Linked DNA regions of Homo sapiens: region 1 is linked to region 2. The links are contacts of gene promoters, found by promoter capture Hi-C in human tissues and cell types (Jung and others, 2019). All regions are on one chromosome and are shown on one strand. The core of a region is centred on a gene start or on the middle of the fragment in contact, and the rest is flanking DNA. Distances in the headings are between cores, read along the strand shown.

Region 1 (5,940 bases), core at 2,043-4,542, 290 kb after region 2:
GCCATTTAGAGCAACAGTACCATTGGTTGCATAAGTTTATAACTTTCCAAAATAGATGAACTTACTCAAACCTTTTCTGCTTTTTCTGTAATAGATTTCTTTGAAAGGAATATCACTTATTTGGAAGTATAAATTCTGAAATTAAAATCTCAAGTCAAATTATAATCACTTTCCTCACTGTGATTTCTGAGTTGAATTGAGTGGACTCAGTGTTGAAGAGAAAGGGCATTCTTAGGCCAGGCATGGTGGCACATGCCTGTAATCCCAGCACTTTGGGAGGCCGAGGCGGGTGGATCATCTGAGGTCAGGAGTTCGCGACCAGCCTGAATAACGTGGTAAAACCTCGTCTCTACTAAATACAAAAAAATTAGCCAGGTGTGGCAGTACATGCCTGTAATCCGAGCTACTTGGGAGGCTGAGACAGGAGAATCGCTCGTACCTGGGAAGTGGAGGTTGCAGTGAGCTGAGATCACGCCATTGCATGCCAGCCTGGGCAACAAGAGCGAAACTCCATCTCAAAAAAAAAAAAAAAAAATGCATTCTAGGCAAGTAATAGTAGTAGTAGCTATGCTATTATTCTGAGTTTCATTTATTTCCAAAATGCCTATTAAGATACCTCCACCTGGATGTCCTATGAGCATTCTTTTAAATACTTTATTGAGATACAGTTTACATATAGTAAAATGTATAAGTATTAAATATACAGCCAGTGCATTCTGATTAATGTATACACCTGTGTGACTATCACCTAAATCAAGATAAAGATGGCCGTCATCCCAGCAAGTTTCCTCTTGCTCCTTTCCTGTCAAGCCCCACCCATTCCAGGCAATCGCTCATCTAATATTTATCACTACAGGTTAGTGTGTCTGTCAACTTCTTAGCAATGGAAGTCACAGAATCACATATCATGTACTCTTTTGTATTTTACTTCTTTTGCCAAAAGTGTTTTTGAGAGTTATCCATGATGTATGATTAGTTCTTCCCCACCCCTCCCCCCCAAGCCTTTTTTTTTTTTTTTGGCCAAGTGTAATATTCCATTATATGAATATACCACAGAATTTCTCCTGTTAATGGAAATTTAAGTTTCAGTTTTTAGCTAGAGGAATGAAGCTGCCATGACTGCAAGCATTTTAAACAGCACCCCAGCTGGAATTGTTCGTCTCTTATCTCCCAGTTGCCTATTTTGAGGCTTCCAATTTTCCTTATCTTATTGAATAGTACCACCTTACTTTGAATATAGTACCACCTTACTTTGAGTATAGTACCACCTTGAGTATAGTACCACCTTACTTTGAGAATAGTACCACCTTACTTTCAGTATAGTACTACCTTACTTTGAGTATAGTACCACCTTACTTTGAGTATAGTACCATCTTACTTTGAGTTACTCACAATAAAGCTTAATCATTTTTTGATCCCTTTTTTATTCTGACAGATAATTATTGACCTTTTATTAGGGACTAGACTTGGTGATAGAGATATAATGAATATAAAACTGTAATCTAATGGGGGCGTGGGCAGTAGTGGAGATAAGTATTAAAAAAACTGCTTTGGAACTCTAGAAGTGCAAAGGAGAGAAGTACCCAGCCTGGGGCAGCTAGGGAAGACTTCCTGGAGGAGGAGATATATTAACTGAAATCTGAAGGGCCCAAAAAAGTTAAAGGGAAGTATATACCAAAATATGAGTAGCATTGTCGTAGTTAAGAGAGCAAAACAGATCATAGGAACTGCAAGAAAGTCAGTATAACAGGTATAGAGAGGATTTGAGGTGGCAGAGGGAGGAAGTGGCAAGAGAGAGGAAGGGGTCGGATTGAAGGGATGTGTGCTGAGTTTGATGGGGTGATGAAAAGTTATTGTGGGGTTTAAAGCAAGGGAACATTACATTTGTGCTTAATACAATGTGAAGGATGCACTTGGAGTGGGGCAGTACTGGAAGCAAGGAGATCTGCTAGGAAATGGTGGCGTATTCCAGGCCAGAAGGGATGAGCTAAGGAGTTGCATTAGAATTAGGAAGAGATTTTTGGCCCTCTGAGAGGACATTTGAGAAACTATAGAATGTGGAGGAAAAGCAGTGTGAGGCCAGAAGAACATGCAACAGGTTAAAGTGTTTGAAGTTAAGGAAAGTGTTGCCATGATCCAGGTATGAGATAAAGGACTAGACTAGGAATTTTAAAAGTATTTTTGATAGAGTTGGCTTTTAATTGAATAAGAATAAAGGAAAGATAACTCCAAAATGACTTCTAGATTTTTTTTTTTTTGAGACAAGGTCTTACTCTGTCACCTATGCTGGAGTGCAGTGGTGTGATCTTGGCTCACTGCAACCTCTGCCTCCCAGGTTCACGCGATTCTTCTGCCTCAGCCTCCCGAGTAGCTGGGACTCTACAGGTGTGCACCACCACACCTGGCTAATTTTTGTATTTTTAGTGGAGACGAGGTTTCACCATATTGGCCAGGCTGGTCTCAAACTCCTGACCTCGTGATCCACCTGCCTCAGCCTCCCAAAGTGCTGGGATTACAGGCGTGAGCCACTGTGCCCGGCCCCCAGCCTAGATTTTTAACCTCAGTAACTGAGAGAACTGTGGTCTTATTGAAAGAGTACGTCAGAAAATGGAGGTGTTTGTAGAGGAGAATGAGTTAATTCTATTTTGAATATATTGGTTTTAAAGTAATGGGGAGCATATCCAAGTAGCATTATTCAGTATAGAGTTGGAAATACTGGAGTAGAAAGTTCAGGTTAGGACTAAAATAAATTTGAATCATTTACATGCTTAGAAGTCATTCAGGTCACAAAAATTCAACCAAATAGCTTGTTTTAGGGGCTGGGATACAAAGACAAAAGACCTACCCGAGCTCTGCTTTTGAGGAGCTTTGAGGCTAGTAGAAGGGATAATATGTTATGATATTCCTCACTGAATATTGTTCGTTATATATATAATATCTTTGAACATACTATCCCTTCTAGAAGGGATATCATAATATCCCTTAATAATAATAATATACATTATTATCCCTTATAATAATAAGGTATAGCCAGGCGCAGTGGCTCATGCCTGTAATCCTAGCACTTTGGGAGGCCAATGCGGGTGGATCACCTGAGGTCAGGAGTTCGAGACCAGCCTGACCAACATGGTGAAACCCCATATCTACTAAAAATACAAAAATTAGCCAGGTGTGGTGGTGGGTGCCTATAATCCCAGCTACTAGGGATGCTGAGGCAGGAGAATCACTTGCATCTGGGGAGGCAGAGGTTGCAGTGAGCCAAGATTATGTCATTGTACTCCAGCCTGGGTGGCAGAATAAGACTCTGTCTCAGAATAATTATAAGAAGGGATAATATGTTCAGGGTACAAACAGAAAGGGATCTTTACTTTGTGACCTGGGAAAGTTACAGTTTTACAAAAGAAAAAGAAGACTGTTTCAAGAATTTATATGGGTTGAGTTTGAATGGGGTAGAGGAAAAGGGGAAGATACCGGGAGTTAAAGATGAATTTGAAGAGTAGGAAGTGCTGTTACAGAAGCTAGGACTAGGAGGCATGATCAGTAGTGTTAGATATTTTGAGGAAGTCAAGCTGTAGACTCAAACAACAAAATTTTTTTTTAACTGTTGGGGTAACAGCTCACAAATAATTTGGTGGATGTCCCCAAAACAGTGAAATAAAGGGGAGAGGTGAGAGGAGTGTTTTAATTTATAATGGGCAATACTTAGAAAAGAAAATAATTATTGAATTTGGAGTGGCTTCAAGGACAATACATTTAAATATTTGTTCCAGAAATTGACCAAACTTTAAACAAAAAACCAGAAGTCATTCTGACTGAAACTGACAACTGGTGGGGCACCATGGCTCATGCCTGTAGTCCTAGCACCTTGGGAAGCCATGGCAGGAGGATTGTGTGAGCCCAAGTGTTTGAGACTAGCTTGGGCAACATGGCAGAACCCCATCTCTACAAAAGGTACAAAAATTAACAATGTGGTAGCCTACGCTTGTAGTCCCAGCTACTTGGGAGGCTGAGGCAGGAGGATCGCTTGAGCCTGAGACGTGGAGGCTGCAGTGAGCCATGATCGTACCACTGAGCGACAGAGGGAGGGAGTAATCGTACTCTAGCCTGGGCGACGGAGGGAGACCCTGTCTCAAAAAAAAAAAAAGAAACGGACAATTTATAGAGTTCTCTAGCTTTTTACCAGGTCTTCAGATTCTTTCTGTGTGGAGAATGGATACAAATTATTTTGTTGACTGATAGAAAGTAATAGCCCAAAGTAGTATCCTCTGAAGTTGCTGTAGTTTGTGTGTCACCTTTTCCAGAAAGGTTGAATTTTGTGGCTTTGAATTCTGTCTGAGAGTAGGAGTCTTGGCTGTTTTTGGACTGTAGAGTGAGAATAAATTGAGATGGTGATGATGCAGGCCAAGTGGAGGTTCATAGAAGTTGATATTTGCAAGACGCTACTGTGTTTCTCATCTGTTATTTTTGCCCCATAGGTTTAACTTCTTTATTCAACAAAAATGCGGATTCAGAAAAGCACCCAGGAAGGTTGAACCTCGAAGATCAGACCCAGGGACAAGTGGTGAAGCATACAAGAGAAGTGCTTTGATTCCTCCTGTGGAAGAAACAGTCTTTTATCCTTCTCCCTATCCTATAAGGAGTCTCATAAAACCTTTATTTTTTACTGTTGGGGTAAGAGCTCACTTTGCTAGGAGTTACCTACCTTGCTAGAAATGCAGTGTTAAAGTACTTTGTCCCATTTGGGCTCCCTTAAAGTAAGGACAGGTAGAGGGGGGATCAAAAAGAGCTGGGCTCATGAATTCTAATTATAGAGTCTGAATTTTTTTTTTTTTTTTTGAGACGGAGTCTCACTCTGTCGCCCAGGTTGGAGTGCAGTGGCGCGATCTCGGCTCACTGCAAGCTCCACCTCCTGGGTTCACACCATTCTCCTGCCTCAGCTTCCCAAGTAGCTGGGACTGTAGGCACTGGCCACCACGCCTGGCTAATTTTTTGTATTTTTAGTAGAGACGGGGTTTCACCTTGTTAGCCAGGATGGTCTCGATCTCCTGACCTCATGATCCGCCCGCCTTGGCCTCCCAAAGTTCTGGGATTACAGGAGTGAGCCACTGCGCCCGGCCTAGAGTCTGAACTTAAAAATTGCTTTTATTATTAAATTCTGGCTTACTTATGTAAGCCCTAGAGAATAAACATATGGGCCTTGTTTGGTACAGCATTTCAAGCGGTGCTAAGTTGGTATTTTCAGTTTTATTTGAGGATTTATAGCTGGAAACAGGCCCCAGGGTATTGTGAAGTTAATACAATGGGAAACAATAAAATGTCCTTTTTGGCCAGGCACAGTGGCTCATGCCTGTAATCCCAGCACTGGAGGCCAAGGTGGGTGGATCACCTGAGGTCAGGAGTTCGAGACCCCTCTGGCCAACATGATGAAACCCCGTCTCTACTAAAAATACAAAAATTAGCCGGGCCTGGAGGCAGGTACCTGTAATCCTAGCTACTCCAGAGGCTGAGACAGGAGAATCACTTGAACCTGGCAGGCAGAGGTTGCAGTGAGCCCATATCGCACCATTACAGTCTGGCCTGGGAGACAAGAGTGAAACTCCATCTCAAAAAGAAAAAAAAAAGCCCTTTTCACTTATTAGGTTTCACTGTGCCAAGTATTCCCTTCTGTTGGTTTGTAAAAAGCAATGACAGTGAAGAATTCTCCTTGGAAATAATGTATAGATCTATTTCCCTCTTAAATCTATTTTGTAATATATCTAATTTTATATAGTTTACAGGCTGTGCATTTGGATCAGCTGCTATTTGGCAATATGAATCACTGAAATCCAGGGTCCAGAGTTATTTTGATGGTATAAAAGCTGATTGGTTGGATAGCATAAGACCACAAAAAGAAGGAGACTTCAGAAAGGAGGTAAAGATAAACACTGCTTTCTTTCTTCT
Region 2 (6,714 bases), core at 33-2,532:
CCCCTCTTAAAGGGAAAGTGACTGCTTCCAAACTGTGCCTGTCCAGATCTCTGCAGCTGGGTGGAAGGGAAGACCCCACCAGGGAGGGGAAGATAGAGAACACCAAGAAACTCTTCCTGGCTATCCCACCCAGGCCCCAGGCCCTTCCTAACGTCTCTCCACTGGCCACCAACTGGAGGAAAAAAGCCCGAATTGGAGGAAAGATCAGCACCTGGGTCAGTGAGGACTACTCCGCAGGGGTCAGGCTCTCTGTTCCGGTGACAACACCCACAACAGCCCACAAAGGAGAGGGCAGGCAGCTAGATAAACATCAGATCTGCAGACCCCGCTCGCGGCCAGGCGCCCGAGCACCCCCGACACCCCTCCCCCAGCTCAAAGTCCCAGCAGAGCCCTCAGATGCAGCATACTCCAAATATGGCTGGGAGCTGTGCTGCTGAAAAGATGAAGGGGGCGAAGAACGAGGGCCACACGACCCAAGTCTGTGCGGAAAAAGGTGGCTCTGGCTCCTCGGCAGGAGGAGGATGGGGGACTCGGGCTCTGAAACTAGGTGGAGGGGGGGTGTGTCTGTCTCTGTGGGCCACTGGTCTCTGAAGAGGTAAGGGGACCGCACCGGCAGGAACTCTGATTGCTAGTGGGGAATTGGACGTCCCCTTAAACAAGGGAGGCCAACGTCCCCTCTTCAGAGGTAAACGGGAGTTGCTACTGGGGCTGGAACCAAAGGGGCCCAAATGGGCCGAGTCGCCCCTAGAAGTCAGAGCGGGGCTAGGAGCCGGTGTAGCGAGGCAAGTCGAAACGGACCGCGTCATCCCTTAGAAGCCAGAGCGGCCGGGGCTCCCGGAGGCGGGGCGGGGGCCATCCTCACCCGAAATCGTCGTCCATAGACTTGAAGAAGAACTTATAGCTGGGTCGCTGCAAAACGCCCTTAAAGTCCGCCAAGGTGACGCGCTCGGCGGGCAGGGGCAGCTTCACAAGGTACGGCGTCTCCTGCCCATCCAAGTGGTAGATGATCTTGGTCTCGCCCATGGCTCTGGCCTCGGGCCCGGCGGCCCGCGCGCGGCCTGCTCGGGCGGCCGGGCCGAGCCTCCCAGACGGCGGCGGCGCGCGGCGCGGCCCAGCGGCTCAACCCAGCTCGGCGGCTGCTGGCGGCGCCAGCTCCCTTGTTCTCCGGCCGCTACCGGGTCCCAGCGCCGCCCGCCGCCGCCGCGGCCGCCGCTTCCGCTCCCCACTCTCCCGACTGGACTGGCGACCGCGACTCTTCCGGTGGCCGCGGCCCTCCCGGCCCAGGGCTTCGTCCGGGCCCGCTCCCCTCCTCCGGCCCGGCGCGGCCCCGCCCCGGCGCGCCCCGCCCCCGGCCGCCGCGGAGAGGCGCCGGCGTCGCGGCAGATGGCAGGGTTTCCCGCCCACTGGCCGGGCCGCGGCGCTCCGGTCCCGGGTCCCTAGAAACGGAAGGGGAGATTCACCGGGATGGCGGCGTTCCCGGACCCCTGAAGGCCCTGACTCCGGACCCAAGTGGGATCGGCGACTCCTCTGCAGTCCAGGAAGAGTGGAATGCAGGGATTGCTTTGGTCCCCAGAAATGGTCTGGGGAAAGAGGGTGGGTCTGACTCTGGATCCCTGGAGGAGAATGACCTCAACATGGCCCTTCAGTGTTTCTTGAGAAGCACAACTGCTGTCACTGAGTCTACTAAACTGATCTCGAGAGAAGGACAGCATCCAGTTCTGATTCCTCCCTATAACCTTAGCGTCCAGTTGCAAGGTAGTGGTTTAATAAATGGGTTGAATGCGGAATAAGTGGGGCCCGGGCGCGGTGGCTCACGCTTCTAATCCCAGCACTTTGGGAGGCCAAGGCGGGCGGATCGCCCGAGGTCGAGAGTTCAAGACCAGCCTGACCAACATGGAGAAACCCTGTCTCTACTAAAAATACAAAAAAATTAGCCGGGCGTGGTGGCGCATGCATGTAATCTCAGCTACTCGGGAGGCTGAGGCAGAAGAATCGCTTGAACACGGGCGGCGGAGGTTGCGGTGAGCCGAGATCGGTGAGTCGAGATCCTGCCTTTGCACTCCAGCCTGGGCAACAAAAGTGAAACTCCATCCCCCCTCGCCCCCCCCCAAAAAAAAAGATAAGTGGATGCATGCATGCCTAAGACAGTAAGTCTCAAACCAGAACTCCAGAACTAGGTATAGCCGGTTCCTCACAGATCTCCTCACCCCTTAACTTTTAATTCATTTAATAAATACTGAAGGCCTACTGTGTATAAGGCATATCGCATGAGATATAGCGATAGCGAGACAGACAAGGCTGCTCTCAGGACCTTCCCTCAGCTGGAGGGAAGCACATAGGCTTGTAAATACATAACTTCAGAGTGACCACTGCTATGAAGAAGGTAAAACAAAGTGATGGGATAGTGACAGGGGAAGCCAGGCGCAATGGCTCATGCCTGTAATTCCAACATTTTGGGAGGCTGAGGCAGGTGGATCACCTGAGGTTAGGAGTTCGAGACCAGCCTGGCCAAAATGGTGAAACCCCGTCTCTAGTAAAAATACAAAAATTAGCTGGACATGGTGGCGCATGCCTGTAGTCCCAGCTACTCGGGAGGCTGAGGCAGGAGAATCGCTTGAACCCGGGAGGTGGAGCTTGCAGTGAGCCGAGATCCCACCACTGCACTCCAGCCTGGGCGACAGAGCGAGACTCCGCCTCAAACAAAAACAAAAACAAAACAACCAAAACAAAACGAGAAAGAGGTTTCTGATTGGTTAGAGAAAACTTCTTCCAGAAAAAAAGACCTAGAAATAGCAAGGATGAAGTGGCTATGAGAAGATCTGGGGTGACAGCCTTCTAGGCAGAGGGCACAGCCAATATACAGGCTCAAGGCAGGAATAAACATGTTACATTTGAGGAATAAGAAGGCCATCATGACTAAAGGAACAGTCCTAGGTGAGGCTGGAAACATAGACCCGCCAGATTACATAGGGCCTTGGATGCTATGGTCTTAAGTATGGGCTCCTTCTACTCCATTTTATACACTGTTGCCAAATTAACACTAGAATAACAACATCATTCAGATACCTCTTCTACTCAGAAACCTTTCCACATTCCCCAAAGCCCCCAAATATCCCTATTCAAGGCCCCCCATAATCTAACCTCTACCTACTTTTACAGCCTTTTGTCTCATATCCTGGCCAAATTTTTGACTCCAGGAAAATGAACCCACTTGCTAGCCCCTGCACACACCTTATGTATATCGTCACTTCATACCCTTTCCTTCACCTTCTTTACATTTTTTATCAAAGTAATATGTTTGGAAGTCAAATAGTATTTAAACAGCTTTTTTTTTTTTTTTTTTTTTTTTTTTTTGAGATGGAGTCTCACTCTGTCGCCCAGGGTGGAGTGCAGTGGCACAATCTCGGCTCACTGCAAGCTCCGCCTCTTGAGTTCACGCCAGCCTCCCGAGCAGCTGGGACCACAGGCGCCCGCCAAATTTTTTGTGTTTTTTTTAGTAGAGACGGGGTTTCACTGTGTTAAACAGGATGGTCTTGATCTGAACTCGTGATCCACCTGCCTCGGCCTCCCAAAGTGCTGGGACTACAGGCGCAAGCCACCACGCCCGGCTTTTTTTTTTTTTTTTTTTTTTTTTTTTTTTTTTTGAGATGGAGTGTTGCTCTGTCGCCCAGGCTGGAGTGCAGTGGCACGATCTTGGCTCACTGTGAACTCCGCCTCCCGGGTTCATGCCATTCTCCTGCCTCAGCCTCCCGAGTAGCTGGGACTACAGGTGCCTGCCACCACACCTGGCTAATTTTTTACATTTGTAGTAGAGATGGGGTTTCACCGTGTTAGCCAGGATGGTCTCGATCTCCTGATCTCGTGATCTGCCTGCCTCGGCCTCCCAAAGTGCTGGGATTACAGGTGTGAGCCACCGTGCCTGGCCCTTAAAAAGCTTTTTAACAAAACAGCAGTCCTCCTTATTGGTATAGTGGTGAGAAAAACAAAACAAAAAACCCGAGCAATTCTTTGTCCTATTTCCCTACCACTCTTAGTACTTTTTTTTAGCTCATAATACTTGTTCTTGATTTATACATTTTAGACATTGCTTATTGATTTCCAAATTTGATTGATGATTCTCTGTCTTCCACCTTACCCTTCCCTCTTAAAATAGTGAAAGCACACTTTTTGGCTAAGTCAATATAGTACTTAGTAGTGACCTTATTTTGACTATGAGCAAATGTTCACCGCTAAGTCATGTGGAGTTTTTTTTGTTTTGTTTTTGTTTTTGTTTTTGATGGAGTCTCACTCTGTCGCCAGGCTGGAGTGCAGTGATGTGATCTCAGCTCATTGCAACCTCCACCTCCCGGGTTCAAGCGATAATTCTGCCTCAGCCTCCGAGTAGCTGGGATTACAGGCATGTGCCACCATACCTGCCCAACTCATTTTTGTATTTTTAGTAGAGACAGGGTTTTACCATGTTGGCCAGGATGGTCTCAATCTCTTGACCTCGTGATCCACCTGCCTTGGCCTCCCAAAGTGCTGTGATTACAGGCATGAGCCACCGCGCTGGCCTCATGTGTGTTTTATAATCGTTTCCTTTACAACTTTTTTGTTTCCTCTGACTTTAATCATTGCCTTGTGTTTTCATTTGTTTTAATATATTATACCTATCATTAGTTTTTCCCATGTAATCTAATAGTTTCTCAATACACATTTTGTTCATTCAGTCAAAGCTATTAGATAATCCATCAGTTCAATTTTTCCCTGGAGGCTTCCATCTTTTTTTTTTTTTTTTTTTAGATGGAGTCTCACTCTGTCGCCCAGGCTGGAGTGCAGTGGCGAGATTCCGGCTCACTGCAACCTCTGCCTCCCAGGTTCAAGTGATTCTCCTGCCTCAGCCTCCCAAGTAGCTGGGATTACAGGCGCCTGCCACCACGCCCAGCTAATATTGTATTTTTAGTAGAGACAGGGTCTCACCATGTTAGCCAGGCTGATCTGGAACTCCTGACCTCAGGTGATCGCTCGCCTTAGCCTCTCAAAGTGCTGGGATTACAGGCGTGAGCCACCACGCTTGGTGGAACCTTCCATTCTTTTGCTCTGGTCTGCACCGCCGGCTATCTCAGCCTGTGCACAGCTGTCATCCTGGGACTTCTCTGCATCCTCAAAATTCCCTTTACCTGTCTCTGTGTTGAATCTGTTTCCTGGATACTTTACTCCTTTGTTTTATTTACCTGTTTATTGAGACAAGGCCTTGCTCTGTTGCTCAGGTTGGAGTATAGTGAGGTAATCATGGCTCACTGCAGCCTCAAACTCCTTGGCTCAAGCGATCCTATCGAAGTGCTGGGATTATAGGTGTGAACCACCGTACCCAGCCAACAATAAATTCTTGAATTAAGACCAGGTCCATGCCTGTAATCCCAACGCCACTGCACTCCAGCCTGGGTGACAGCGACACTCCTTCTCAAAAAAACAAACAAACAAAAAAGTAGCCGTGTGTGGTGGTAAGCACCTGTAATCCCAGCTACTCAGGAGACTGAGGCACGAGAATCGCGTGAACCCGGGAGGTGGAGATTGCAGTGAGCTGAGACCACATCACTGCACTCCAGCCTGGGCAACAGAACAAAACTCAGTCTAAAAGAAAAAAAAAAACGGAAAAATGGTAATTAAAATGTTCTTTTTTTTTGAGACAGAGTCTCACTCTGTCACTCAGGCTGGAGTGCAGTGGTGTGGTCTCAGCTCACTGCAATCTCCACCTCCTGGGTTCAAGTGATTCTCGTGCCTCAGCCTCCTGAGTAGCTGGGATTACAGGTGCACACCACCACATGCGGCTAACTTTTTTTTTCTTTTTTTTTTTTTTTGAGAAGGAGTCTCACCCTATCATCCAGGCTGGAGTGCAGTGGAGCTATCTCGGCTCACTGCAACCTCTGCCTCCTGGGCTCAGGCGATTCTCCTGCCTCAGCCTCCTGAGTAGCTGGGATTACAGGCATGCACCACCATGCCCAGCTAATATTTTGTATTTTTAGTAGAGACAGGGTTCCACCATGTTGGCCAGGATTGTCTCAAACTCCTGACCTCAGGTGATCTGCCCGCCTCAGCCTCCCAAAGTGCTGGGATTACAGGTGTGAGCCACCATGCCCAGCCCTAATTTTGTATATATTTTTTTGTCTTTGTATGAGATTTTATTAAAGGTCTTTACAGAGCAACATCCAGACTCCAGAATACAGCTGCTAAGGAGACCCTGTTATGCTGTAGGGACTGGCTGGGGCATGGCAGATGGCTCTGGCTTCCCACCCTTCTGTTCTGAGATGGGGGTGGTGGGCAGTATCTCATCTTTGGGTTCCACGATGCTCACGTGGTCAGGCAGGGGCTTCTTAGGGCCAGTCTTACCAGTTGGGTCCCAGGGCAGCATGATCTTCACCTTGATGCCCAGCACACCCTGTCTGAGCAACACGTGGCACACAGCAGTGCCAACGTAGTAGTTAATAGGGTCTCCACTGTGGATCGTCAGGCCATCCACAAACTTCATGGATTTAGCCCTCTGTCCTCGGAGTTTCCCAGACGCCATGACCTTGCAGCCTTTGGCCCCACTCTCCATGATGAACCGCAGCACACCATAGCAGGCCCTCCACACAGCAAGCCCTCCTAGGAGTTTGTAACGCAGAGACTCTGCCTGGGCAATGGCACACAGACCTCTAGTGGCAACCTTTTCAGCATAAAGCTCTACACTGCCCT

Evidence for each region. The method cuts DNA at HindIII sites, captures the fragments that hold promoters and counts their contacts. A contact is called where the count stands out against the background at its distance.
Region 1: a fragment that was not itself captured here is called in contact with the fragment with the promoter of DVL3 in region 2 in 1 of the 25 tissues and cell types used here (aorta).

What each region holds. Positions count from the first base shown.
Region 1 is chr3:183,866,596-183,872,535 of GRCh38, reverse strand. PARL (presenilin associated rhomboid like) reads left to right here. Exons shown (of 10, transcript NM_018622.7): 2 at 4,476-4,671; 3 at 5,771-5,911. Among named protein-coding and RNA genes, the nearest start is that of PARL, 15 kb to the left of the region's middle. The HindIII fragment of the contact is 7,346 bases long and covers 1-5,940 here.
Region 2 is chr3:184,149,945-184,156,658 of GRCh38, reverse strand. DVL3 (dishevelled segment polarity protein 3) reads right to left here and starts at 1,282. Exons shown (of 15, transcript NM_004423.4): 1 at 863-1,282. The coding sequence starts at 1,023. It also overlaps the pseudogene RPS3P3. RefSeq lists an enhancer at 1-698 and a silencer at 1,036-1,385. The HindIII fragment of the contact is 10,362 bases long and covers 1-5,927 here.